Linked DNA regions of Homo sapiens: region 2 is linked to region 1. The links are contacts of gene promoters, found by promoter capture Hi-C in human tissues and cell types (Jung and others, 2019). All regions are on one chromosome and are shown on one strand. The core of a region is centred on a gene start or on the middle of the fragment in contact, and the rest is flanking DNA. Distances in the headings are between cores, read along the strand shown.

Evidence for each region. The method cuts DNA at HindIII sites, captures the fragments that hold promoters and counts their contacts. A contact is called where the count stands out against the background at its distance.
Region 2: a fragment that was not itself captured here is called in contact with the fragment with the promoter of FLG2 in region 1 in 4 of the 25 tissues and cell types used here (bladder, dorsolateral prefrontal cortex, spleen and 1 more).

What each region holds. Positions count from the first base shown.
Region 1 is chr1:152,355,361-152,361,445 of GRCh38, forward strand. It overlaps FLG2 (filaggrin 2), which reads right to left and starts at 4,646. Exons shown (of 3, transcript NM_001014342.3): 1 at 4,596-4,646; 2 at 3,387-3,546; 3 at 1-2,287. The coding sequence starts at 3,524. The region is part of intron 7 of CCDST (cervical cancer associated DHX9 suppressive transcript); the gene reads left to right. The HindIII fragment of the contact is 6,746 bases long and covers 1,890-6,085 here.
Region 2 is chr1:152,304,912-152,311,779 of GRCh38, forward strand. FLG (filaggrin) reads right to left here. Exons shown (of 3, transcript NM_002016.2): 3 at 1-6,868. All of the region lies in intron 3 of CCDST (cervical cancer associated DHX9 suppressive transcript), which reads left to right. Among named protein-coding and RNA genes, the nearest start is that of FLG, 17 kb to the right of the region's middle. The HindIII fragment of the contact is 3,198 bases long and covers 3,131-6,328 here.

The DNA.
Region 1 (6,085 bases), core at 3,396-5,895:
GGCCAAAGCCAGTGGATTGACTTGAGCCTGACCCATGTTGTCCAAAGCCAGATGTCTGTCTAGACCCATGTTGGCCATAGCCAGATGACTGACTTGAGCCAGAACTGTGTTGGCCATAGCTAGACTGACCTGATCTAGACTCATGTTGTCCAAAGCCAGAGGATTGTCCTGAGCCAGACCCATGTTGTCCAAAGCCAGAGGACTGACCTGAGCCTGATCCATGTTGGCCAAAGCTGGAAGACTGACCTGAGCTTAACTCGTGTTGTCCAAATCCAGATGTCTGTCCTGAACTTGACCCATGTTGACCATAGCCAGATGATTGACTTGAGCCAAAACCATGTTGGCCATAGCTAGAATGACCTGATCTAGACTCATGTTGTCCAAAACCAGAGGATTGTCCTGAGCCAGAAACATGTTGTCCAAAGCCAGAGGACTGACCTGAGCCTGATCCATATTGGCCAAAGCCAGTGGATTGACTTGAGCCTGACCCATGTTGTCCAAAGCCAGATGTCTGTCTAGACCCATGTTGGCCATAGCCAGATGACTGACTTGAGCCAGAACTGTGTTGGCCATAACTAGACTGACCTGATCTAGACTCATGTTGTCCAAAGCCAGAGGATTGTCCTGAGCCAGACCCATGTTGTCCAAAGCCAGAGGACTGACCTGAGCCCGATCCATATTGGCCAAAGCCAGTGGATTGACCTGAGCCCAACCCATGTTGTCCAAAGCCAGATGTCTCTCTAGACCCATATTGGCCATAGCCAGATGATTGACTTGAGCCAGAACCATGTTGGCCATAGCTAGACTGACGTGATCTAGACTCATGTTGTCCAAAACCAGAGGATTGTCCTGAGACAGACCCATGCTGTCCAAAACCAGAGGATTGTCCTGAGACAGACCCATGCTGTCCAAAGCCAGAGGACTGACCTGAGCCTGACCCACATTGTCCAAAGCCAGAGGACTGACCTGAGCCAGACCCATGTTGTCCAAAGCCAGATGTCTTACCTGAGCTAGACCCATGCTGGTCATAGCCCAAGGATTGACTTGATGTAGACTCATGCTGGCCACAAGTTTGACCTGAGCCACATACATGTTGTTCGAACCCAGAGGACTGACTCAAGCCTGTTCCATGTTGTTCAAAGCTAGTAGACTGACTTGAACCAGACCCATATTGATCACATTTGGAAAATTCATTTGAACTAGAAGAGTTTGAAAAGCGGCCACAGGAACCATATTCATGTTGACCATTACTACAAGACTGGCTACCTCCAGACCCATATTGTCCACAGCAAGAGGACTGACTTGAGCCTGTTCTCCATTGTCCTCCACAGTTCTGTGGTTGACCATTTTCTCTAGCTCCATATCCTCTCTGACTATAGGACTGACTACAGGGGTTAGACTCAGGTTGACCACATCCAGAGGGCTGACCTCCTGAGACACAGCCATGGCCTTGTCCTCCCTTAATTCCTGACTGACAGCCTGACTGAATATAGCTAAATTGATTTCCTTGCCCTCCAAATCTATGTGACTGACAAGAACTTGAAGCATTTTGTGGCCTTCCACACCCACTTGAATTGCTATAACCACATGCATGACTTCGCCTCCCACTGTCTCCTGAACCTGAACAGCTAGACCCAAGCTTTTGTTCTCTAATTCTTGACTGAGTAGAGTTTGATTCATGCCCACTAGTCTCCAATCCACATGACAGACCACCATGACCTTTCCTTTCCCAACTGTTTGATCCAGATCCAGATTCATACTCCTCCCCAGATTCCCTAGAAGGGCTAATGTGTGACTTGTTTATTCTTTCTCTCAGTTCTACAGAGCTGGAACCATGTCTGTCTTTGCCACCACTCCATGAATGACCACAGCTGGACCTGTGGTATCTTTTCTGAGATCCCTCTTGGTTCCCAGAGCTGGATAAATTACCTTGTCTTCCTAGCCTCCTGGAGTTGGACCCATGTCTACATTTCACAGTTCCCCTTGAGTGCCCAGAACTATATCCATGCTCCTCTCCCTCACTCCAACTTGAATGTCTGTAACCTGATTTATGTCCTGGTGTATCCTCTTCATCCTCTTCTGTTTCACTTTCTTCTTCTTGGTGTCGGTGACCACGCCTATGCTTCTTTGACCCTGAAGCTTTGCAGTATTCTTTGCTGAGGACCTTGTTGCAGGCCATAGTCAGCTTGAATATCATCAAAAGAAACTCAGTAAAGTCCAATCTTCTGTCATGATCTCGATCCAGCATATGCATGATGACATCCACTGTGTCTGGATCATCTGGGTTCTGTATATGAGTGACACACCAAGGGAGACCTGGTCAGCCTAACCTGCATACTCAACTAACACATTTAAATAGCGCTGTGAAATTATGGATGTTTGACATGATGTAGTTTTAGTCCAATAAAGGATTACTTTAGGTTAATAGAACCCAGTAAATGTTAAGGGTTAATAGAAAATAAAGACTACTGGGATCCTCAGAAGAAGACATTTCAAGGATTTAGGCTAAAGGATTAAGTGCTTAGGTAAGGCCTACAGGAAGGAGTGGAATAAACTAAGTTCAGTAACTGGTATTTCTAAGTTTTACATAAATTGTAACTATTACATGTTAATATCTTCCATGTTGGAATTTATCATCTATTATTTTGAAGTTAATAACTGAGTCTTTTTTTTTTTTTTGAGATGGAGTCTTGCTCTGTAGCCCAGGCTGGAGTGCAGTGGTGCGATCTCTGCTCACTGCAAGCTCTGCCTCCCAGGTTCACGCCATTCTCCTGCCTCAGCCTCCCGAGTAGCTGGGACTACAGGGGCATGCAACCACGCCCGGCTAATTTTTTGTATTTTTAGTAGAGATGGGGTTTCACCGTATTAGCCAGGATGGTCTTGATCTCCTTACCTTGTGATTCACCCACTTCGGCCTCCCAAAGTGCTGGGATTACAGGCATGAGCCACCGCGCCTAGCTGAGTCCTTTTTAAGTAGATGGAATAAAATGCTGGCATTTTATTTTTGATTCTTAATCATGGCTATTTTGTCAACTCCCTATGTAGATGATTTCCCTTTCTATACTTTTTTTTCCATTTGATAGGATAATTTATTAATTCGTGTCCTAGTATAATTTTATTTTCTGCTTTTTCTAAGGAAAAGCCTGGGTGTATGAGAAAGTCTGAGAGTCTATGAGGTAGGAGTGCATAGGTGGAAAAGTGAGGACGAAACATTCACTTTCTTTAAAATATCTGCTGCTTTAACAGACTTTCTGGCATCCCCAAAATACCACTCATAGAGTTTGCTTAGAGTTCACTGGGGCTGTGCACTTTTTAGCTGATCTGGGTCATACAACAGAGCTTGTACAGGACTCCAGCAGCCTTCAGTTCTGGCACATGGCTCTCACCTTCAGAACTGGATGAAGCTCTTTCTCCAGAAGTTCCTTTAGTTCACCCTTGCTCAGTGTGCCACACTCCCCATCTTGCTTGGTGTATTTGTAGAAAACATCAATTACGGTGACAACACTTCTCAAGAGGTCGGTCATCTTTTTGCAAGTTTAAGTGAACCTGGACACAGAAAAACAAAGAACCCTATTATTCATATTCTCTCCTTTTATCAGCAATTTTCATTTTAATAATAACCAGCATGATTTTTTTAACCTCTTGTTTTTTAAATCTCAAAACGTAAGAATGGGCCAGGGATGATACAACCCCGTTTAACACAATGAAAATTAACTTTGTTAACTTTGAGTTACTTTTCTGTGATCAAGTCTTGGCATGTTACTGGTTCAACTGAGAATAGACCTCAAGTCTCTATATTTCCTGTCATGGGTAAGTATAGTCTCTACATAGTATCTCTACACTTTGAGTGTGTTGGCATTCTGGGTGTTGTTCTAAGGCTTCCAAAATTTCCAGAACCAGCCAGACACCATTGCCTCAATCTCTCTTTCTAGTTTCACTGCTTTTCTTGAGTCAAAAGTGACAGACCTTCCACCATGCACATCTGTTTATCCTCTGGGCACCAGAAGCTAAACTGGACCCTTAAGGCCTTCAGCAAATTAAAAATGGGCAAAGGGGCTCAAAATAGCTTGGTGTTTCATAGGCATGAGACAGTAGAACTCAGTAGAGCTTAGGAACTCTCTTAATGTCAAGCACTTGACCAAACACTGTTTTCTTTAATTAATCAAGAAGAAGAGCTCAGCAATGCAGGCAGCAGTTTAACTAGTGGATAATTAGATCTTGGAGCTCTGGGAACCAACACTGAATAAGGAAGGGACTCTGCAACAGACCCAGCTGCCTCCCAGTTTGAGCTGGACAGCCCAGAAAAGAGGGCATGGAAAAAGACTCGGAACAGACTGTGGAATGGCCTAGAGGAAGGTGAACTTTTACTTGCATTATTCTTCTCCATAAAAATGAACTTAACTACAAAAAGGCCCCAGAATAAACTAAACTAACCAAACAAATAAGCAAACAAAAAGAAAAGAAAATGAAAGAAAGAAACAAAAAAGAAAAGAAAGGCAAAATATACATGAACTCTGCCTTAGCTTATATCCCTAGACTTCTACTATGGACAACACCAAATATTCATAAATGTAGCTGGATGAATTTTCTCTCACCTGGTTCACCAAAGGAACAAGTAGGATAAAGCCTGATGCAGCTTGCAGGGTGACGATGGATTGGGATAATGACCCTTATATAGCTTATAGTGATTATAGTGAATGAGGTGATTCATTTTCCATCAAACCTAACTCCACCTCTACATATTTACCTTCCTCCTTCACATTGTTATCTACAGATGATTGCAGAAAGGCTAGTACCAGCCCCACCTTCCAGTACGAGGACATGGTTGCAAGATACCTTTTTTTTCAGGGTCATATACATGTGAAAAGCACAGACTTTGTTTTAGAGGACTCATGTTATACATTTCTTTTAACTAGTACCCACAGAAAGTAGCAGAGTGTAAGATACTTGGAAGGTGCACAATAAATGCTTATTTAATTGAAAATGAACCTGAGCCACTAGGTTCATCTAATTCATGTCTTTTTTGTAATAATAAAAAGTGACATTTATTGAGAATTTACTATGTGCTAAATACTTTAAACAAACCATCTCAATCTTTAAAAAATCTGCACTTTTAGTTATGGGTACATAGTTGTATATAATTGTTGGGTACATGTGATGTTTTGATATGGGCATACCATGTGTAATGATCAAATTACAGTAATTGGGGTATCCAGCACCTCAAGCATTTCTTTGTAGTAGGAACATTCTAATTCTACTATTTTAGTTATTTAAAAATATACAATAAATAGTTAACTATAGTTACCATATTATGTTACCAAATACTAGATCTTATCACCTCATTTAATCTTCACAACCTTCATACGAGATATGTATTTATTATCCCATTTTATAGAGACAGGTTCTGGAAGCATAAGGATCTTCTCCAAGGTCATAGCTAGTAGGCAGAGAAACCAGAAGTTGAACCTGTATCTACCTTATTGCAATTGCTGTTTACCATTATACTAACTTACCTCTGTGTATTTATCATATATAACTATCATGCAAAAATTATGCACCATTTTAGGAGTGTAAGGCCCACTCAAACGCAAATAATATAAAAAAGTAACATACAGAGTGCTGTTAGGAAGAGAGGAAACATTCTCTGACCTTGTGAAGGCTCATTTCTAGGCTAGAAAAGTGTAATTGGCTATATATAAAAATAATGTTTTCAGATATGTTCAGGGTGAATTTAGAGTGAGCTTTCTTCCAGCACTCTGCGATCCACTGGTAGTCTGGCATGTTTAGGGCCTGGACCCTTGGGAAAATGTTCACTTATGTACAGAAAGTATATCAAATACACTTGAGGGTAACAAAAATAATCAGAGAGCTGTAAGTCTTAAGCATGGAGAGCCAATTCTGCTGTACTTTGCTACCAGGTGATAATGATGATGATGAGGAGGATAGCAGCTACCATTAAGTGCTAAGTGCTTACTATCTTCTATACATGGTAGGTTTACATGCTTATCTATTTATTCCTCAAAATAACCCCATTTTATAGATAAGGTAATAAAAGCATAGAGCAATGTAAACATTTGTTACAAAT
Region 2 (6,868 bases), core at 3,480-5,979, 50 kb before region 1:
GATGAAGCTTGTCCACGCGGAATGCCTGAGTGTCTGGAGCTGTCTGCTGACTGCTGGTGGCGGGATCCGTGTCTCTCTCCTGGACTTGATCTTGCCTGTTCATGGGATGATGCAGCCTGTCCACCAGAGGAAGTCTCTGCGTGACGAGTGCCTGATTGTCTGGAGCGGTCTGCAGAGTGCCCGTGACCGGCTCTGTCTTCGTGATGGGACCTGGGGTGTCTGGAGCCGTGCCTTGACTGCTCCTGAACAGATCCACGATGGTTTCTGGAAGCAGACCCAGACCACCTCTCAGAGTCTTCTGAATGTCCCTCACTGTCACTGTCCTGGCTCACACTGGATCCCTGGCGCCTGCTTCTCCTGGACCCCTCTGATTGTCCCTGGACTGCCTGTGAGTGTCTAGAGATGTCGGCATGAGTGGAAGCTTCATGGTGACGTGACACTGAGTGCCTGGAGCTGTCTCCTGATTGTTCCTCATTACGTGTTGTTCTGCTTGCACTTCTGGATCCTGACTGCCCACGGGAGGCATCAGACCTTCCCTGGGATGTGGTGTGGCTGTGATGGGACCCTGAGTGTCCAGAGCTATCTACCGAATGCTCGTGGTGGTACCCCTGCCTTCCTCCTCTGCTTGACCCCGGGTGTCCACGAATGGTGTCCTGACCGTATTGGGATGCTGAGTGCCTGGAGCTGTCTTGTGCCTGCTCATGGCGGGATCCTTGTCTTCCTCTAGTGCTGGGCCCCGTCCATCCATGGGAGGACTCAGACTGTTCATGAGTGCTCACCTGGTAGAGGAAAGATCCTGAATGTCCAGACGTTTCCCCTGACCGGCCACGTGCGGACTCTTGGTGGCTCTGCTGATGGGACCCAGCCTGTCCGTGGGCTGACACTGACTGTGTGTCTGAGTCTTCTGAATGTCCCTCATTGTCACTGGCCTGACTACCACTGTACCCTCGGTGTCCACTGTCTCTGACTGCAGATGAAGCTTGTCCGTGCCCAATGCCTGAGTGTCTGGAGCTGTCTGCTGACTGCTGGTGGTGGGATCCATGTCTTTCTCCTGCACTTGATCTTGCCTGTTCATGGGATGATGCAGCCTGTCCACCAGAGGAAGTCTGTGTGTGACGAGTGCCTGATTGTCTGGAGCTGTCTGCAGAGTGCCCATGACCAGCTCTGTCTTCTTGATGGGACCTGGGGTGTCTGGAGCCATCTCTTAGCTGCTCCTGAGCAGATCCATGATGGTTTCTGGAAGCAGACCCAGACCACCTCTCAGAGTCTTCTGAATGTCCCTCACTGTCACTGTCCTGGCTCACACTGGATCCCTGGCGCCTGCTTCTCCTGGACCCCTCTGATTGTCCCTGGACTGCCTGTGAGTGTCTAGAGATGTCGGCATGAGTGGAAGCTTCATGGTGACGCGACCCTGAGTGCCTGGAGCCGTCTCCTGATTGTTCCTCATTACGTGTTGTTCTGCTTGCACTTCTGGATCCTGACTGCCCACGGGAGGCATCAGACCTTCCCTGGGATGTGGTGTGGCTGTGATGGGACCCTGAGTGTCCAGAGCTATCTACCGAATGCTCGTGGTGGTACCCCTGCCTTCCTCCTCTGCTTGACCCCGGGTGTCCACGAATGGTGTCCTGACCGTCTTGGGATGCTGAGTGCCTGGAGCTGTCTTGTGCCTGCTCATGGCGGGATCCTTGTCTTCCTCTAGTGCTGGGCCCCGTCCATCCATGGGAGGACTCAGACTGTTCATGAGTGCTCACCTGGTAGAGGAAAGATCCTGAATGTCCAGACGTTTCCCCTGACCGGCCACGTGCGGACTCTTGGTGGCTCTGCTGATGGGACCCAGCCTGTCCGTGGGCTGACACTGACTGTGTGTCTGAGTCTTCTGAATGTCCCTCATTGTCACTGGCCTGACTACCACTGTACCCTCGGTGTCCACTGTCTCTGACTGCAGATGAAGCTTGTCCGTGCCCAATGCCTGAGTGTCTGGAGCTGTCTGCTGACTGCTGGTGGTGGGATCCATGTCTTTCTCCTGCACTTGATCTTGCCTGTTCATGGGATGATGCAGCCTGTCCACCAGAGGAAGTCTGTGTGTGACGAGTGCCTGATTGTCTGGAGCTGTCTGCAGAGTGCCCATGACCAGCTCTGTCTTCTTGATGGGACCTGGGGTGTCTGGAGCCATCTCTTAGCTGCTCCTGAGCAGATCCATGATGGTTTCTGGAAGCAGACCCAGACCACCTCTCAGAGTCTTCTGAGTGTCCCTGACTGTCACTGTCCTGGCTAAAACTGGATCCCCAGTTCCTGCTTGTCCTGGGCCCCTCTGATTGTCCCTGGCCCACCTGCGAGTGTCCAGAGCTGTCGGCCCGAGAGGAAGCTTCATGGTGACGCGACCCTGAGTGCCTGGAGCCGTCTCCTGATTGTTCATCGTTACGAGTTTGTCTGCTTGCACTTCTGGATCCTGAGTGCCCATGGGAGGCATCAGACCTTCCCTGGGATGTGGTGTGGCTGTGATGAGACCCTGAGTGTCCAGATCTATCTACCAATTGCTCGTAGTGGGATCCCTGCCTTCCTCCACTGCTTGACCCCGGGTGTCCATGAATGGTGTCCTGACCCTCTTGGGACGTTGAGTGCCTGGAGCTGTCTCGTGCCTGCTTGTGGTGGGATCCTTGTCTTCCTCCAGTGCTGGTCCCGGTCCGTCCATGGGCGGACTCAGACTGTTCATGAGTGCTCACCTGGTAGAGGAAAGACCCTGAACGTCCAGACCTTCCTGCTGACCGGCCACGTGTGGACTCTTGGTGGCTCTGCTGATGGGGCCCAGCCTGTCCGTGGGCTGACACTGACTGTGTGTCTGAGTCTTCTGAATGTCCCTCACTGTCACTGGCCTGACTACCACTGGACCCTCGGTGTCCACTGTCTCTGACTGCAGATGAAGCTTGTCCGTGCCCAATGCCTGAGTGTCTGGAGCTGTCTGCTGACTGCTGGTGGTGGGATCCGTGTCTCTCTCCTGCACTTGATCTTGCCTGTTCATGGGATGATGCAGCCTGTCCACCAGAGGAATTCTCTGCATGATGAGTGCCTGATTGTCTGGAGCTCTCTGCAGAGTGCCCATGACCGGCTCTGTCTTCGTGATGGGACCTGGGGTGTCTGGAGCCATCTCTTGACTGCTCCTGAGCAGATCCATGATGGTTTCTGGACGCAGACCCAGACCGCCTCTCAGAATCTTCTGAGTGTCCCTCACTGTCACTGTCCTGGCTAACACTGGATCCCCGGGGCCTGCTTGTCCTGGGCCCTGATGATTGTCCCTGGCCCACCAGTGAGTGTCTAGAGCTGTCGGCCCAAGAGGAAGCTTCATGATGATGCGACCCTGAGTGCCTAGAGCCATCTCCTGATTGTTCCTTGTCATATGTTTTTCTGCTTGCACTTCTGGATCCTGACTGCCCACGGGAGGCATCAGACCTTCCCTGGGATGTGGTGTGGCTGTGATGAGACCCTGAGTGTCCAGACCTATCTACCGATTGCTCTTGGTGGGACCCCTGTCTTCCTCCTCTGCTTGGCCCCGGGTGTCCACGAATGGTGTCCTGACCCTCTTGGGATGCTGAGTGCCTGGAGCTGTCTTGTGCCTGATCATAATGGGATCCTTGTCTTCCTCCAGTGCTGGGCGCAGACTGTCCATGGGTGGACTCAGACTGTTCATGAGTGCTCACCTGGTAGAGGAAAGACCCTGAACGTCCAGAGCTTTCCCCTGACTGGCCACGTGCGGACTCTTTGTGGCTCTGCTGATGGGGCCCAGCTTTTCCCTGTGCTGACACTGACTGTGTGTCTGAGTCTTCTGAATGTCCCTCACTGTCACTGGCCTGACTACCACTGTACCCTCGGTGTCCACTGTCTCTGACTGCAGATGAAGCTTGTCCATGCCCAATGCCTGAGTGTCTGGAGCTGTCTGCTGACTGGAGCTGGTGGTGGGATCCATGTCTTTCTCCTGCACTTGATCTTGCCTGTTCATGGGATGACGCAGCCTGTCCACGAGAGGAAGACTCTGTGTGACGAGTGCCTGATTGTCTGGAGCTGTCTGCAGAGTGCCCGTGACCGGCTCTGTCTTCGTGATGGGACCCAGGGTGTCTGGAGCCATCTCTTGACTGCTCCCAAGCAGATCCAAGATGGTTTCTGGAAGCAGACCCAGACCACCTCTCAGAGTCTTCTGAGTGTCCCTGACTGTCACTGTCCTGGCTAACACTGGATCCCTGGTTCCTGCTTGTCCTGGGCCCTGATGATTGTCCCTGGCCCACCTGCGAGTGTCTAGAGCTGTCGGCCCGAGAGGAAGCTTCATGGTGACGCGACCCTGAGTGCCTGGAGCCGTCTCCTGATTGTTTCTCATTACGTGTTTGTCTGCTGACACTTCTGGATCCTGACTGCCCACGGGAGACATCAGACCTTTCCTGGGACGTGGTGTGGCTGTGATGAGACCCTGAGTGTCCAGAACTATCTACCGATTGCTCATAGTGGGATCCCTGCCTTCCTCCTCTGCTTGACCCTGGGTGTCCACGAATGGTGTCCTGACCCTCTTGGGACGCTGAGTGCCTGGAGCTGTCTCGTGCCTGCTCGTGGCGGGATCTTTGTCTTCCTCCAGTGCTGGGCCCTGTGCGTCCATGGGCGGACTCAGACTGTTCATGAGTGCTCACCTGGTAGAGGAAAGACCCTGAACGTCCAGACCTTTCCCCTGACTGGCCACGTGTGGACTCTTGGTGGCTCTGCTGATGGGGCCCAGCCTGTCCGTGGGCTGACACTGACTGTGTGTCTGACTCTTCTGAGTGTCCCTCGCTGTCACTGGCCTGGCTACCACTGGACCCTCGGTTTCCACTGTCTCCGACTACAGATGAATCTTGTCTGCGCCCAGTGCCTGAGTCTGTGGAGCTGTCTGCTGACTGCTGGTGGCGGGATCCATGTCTTTCTCCTGGACTTGACCTTGCCTGTTCCTGGGATGATGCAGCCTGTCCACCAGAGGAAGTCTCTGCATGACGAGTGCCTGATTGTCTGGAGCTCTCTGCAGAGTGCCCATGACTGGCTCTATCTTCTTGATGGGACCTGGGGTTCCTGGAGCCATGTCTTGACTGCTCCCGAGCAGATCCATAATGGTTTCTGGAAGCCGACTCAGACCGCCTCTCAGAGTCTTCTGAGTGTCCCTCACTGTCCCTGTCCTGACTAACACTGGATCCCTGGCGCCTGCTTGTCTTGGACCCCGCTGATTCTCCCTGGCCCACCTGTGAGTGTCTAGAGCTGCCGGCCCGAGTGGAAGGTTCATGGTGACGTGACCCTGAGTGCCTGGAGCCGTCTCCTGATTGTTCCTCATTTCTTGTTTGCCTGCTTGCACTTCTGGGTCCTGACTGCCCATGGGAGGCATCAGACCTTCCCTGGGGTGTGGTGTGGCTGTGATGGTACCCTGAGTGTCCAGACCTATCTACTGATTGCTCGTGGTAGGATCCCTGCCTTCCTCCTCTGCTTGACCCCGGGTGTCCACGAATGGTGTCCTGACCGTCTTGGGATGCTGAGTGCCTAGAGCTGTTTCGTGCCTGCTCATGGCGGGATCCTTGTCTTCCTCCAGTGCTGGGTGCAGTCTGTCCGTGTGTGGACTCAGACTGTTCATGAGAGCTCACCTGGTAGAGGAAAGACCTTGAACGTCCAGAGCTTTCCCCTGACTGGCCACGTGCGGACTCTTTGTGGCTCTGCTGATGGGGCCCAGCTTGTCCGTGGGCTGACACTGACTGTGTGTCTGAGTCTTCTGAATGTCCCTCACTGTTAGTGACCTGACTACCACTGGACCCTCGGTGTCCACTGTCTCTGACTGCAGATGAAGCTTGTCTGTGCCCAATGCCTGAGTGTCTGGAGCTGTCTGCTGACTGCTGGTGGCGGGATCCATGTCTTTCTCCTGGACTTGATCTTGCCTGTTCATGGGATGACACAGCCTGTCCATGAGAGGAAGACTCTGTGTGATGAGTGCCTGATTGTCTGGAGCTGTCTGCAGAGTGCCCGTGACTGGCTCTGTCTTCTTGATGGAACCCAGGGTGTCTGGAGCCATCTCTTGACTGCTCCCGAGAAGATCCATGATGGTTTCTGGAAGCAGACCCAGACAACCTCTCGGAGTCGTCTGAGTGTCTCTCACTGTCACTGTCCTGGCTAACACTGGATCCCTGGTGCCTGCTTGTCCTGGACCCCGATGATTGTTCCTGTCCCACCTGTGAGTGTCTAGAGCTGTCAGCCCAAGAGGCAGCTTCATGGTGACGTGACCCTGAGTGCCTGGAGCCGTCTCCTGATTGTTTGTCCTTACGAGTTTGTCTGCTTGCACTTCTGGATCCTGACTGCCCATGGGAGGCATCAGACCTTCCCTGGGATGTGGTGTGGCTGTGATGGGACCCTGAGTGTCCAGATCTATCTACCGATTGCTCATGGTGGGATCCCTGCCTTCCTCCTCTCCTTGACCCCGGGTGTGCACGAATGGTGTCCTGACCCTCTTGGGACGCTGAGTGCCTGGAGCTGTCTCGTGCCTGCTCGTGGTGGGATCCTTGTCTTCGTCCAGTGCTGGTCCTGGTCCGCCCATGGGCAGACTCAGACTGTTCATGAGTGCTCACCTGGTAGATGAAAGACCCTGAACGTCCAGACCTTCCCCCTGACCAGTCACGTGCGGACTCTTGGTGGCTCTGCTGATGGGGCCCATCCTGTCCATGGCCTGACACTGACTGTGTGTCTGACTCCTCTGAATGTCCCTCACTATCACTGGCCTGACTACCACTGGACCCCCAGTGTCCACTGTCTCTGACTGCAGATGAAGCTTGTCTGCGCGGAATGCCTGAGTGTCTGGAGCTGTCTGCTGACTGCTGGTGGC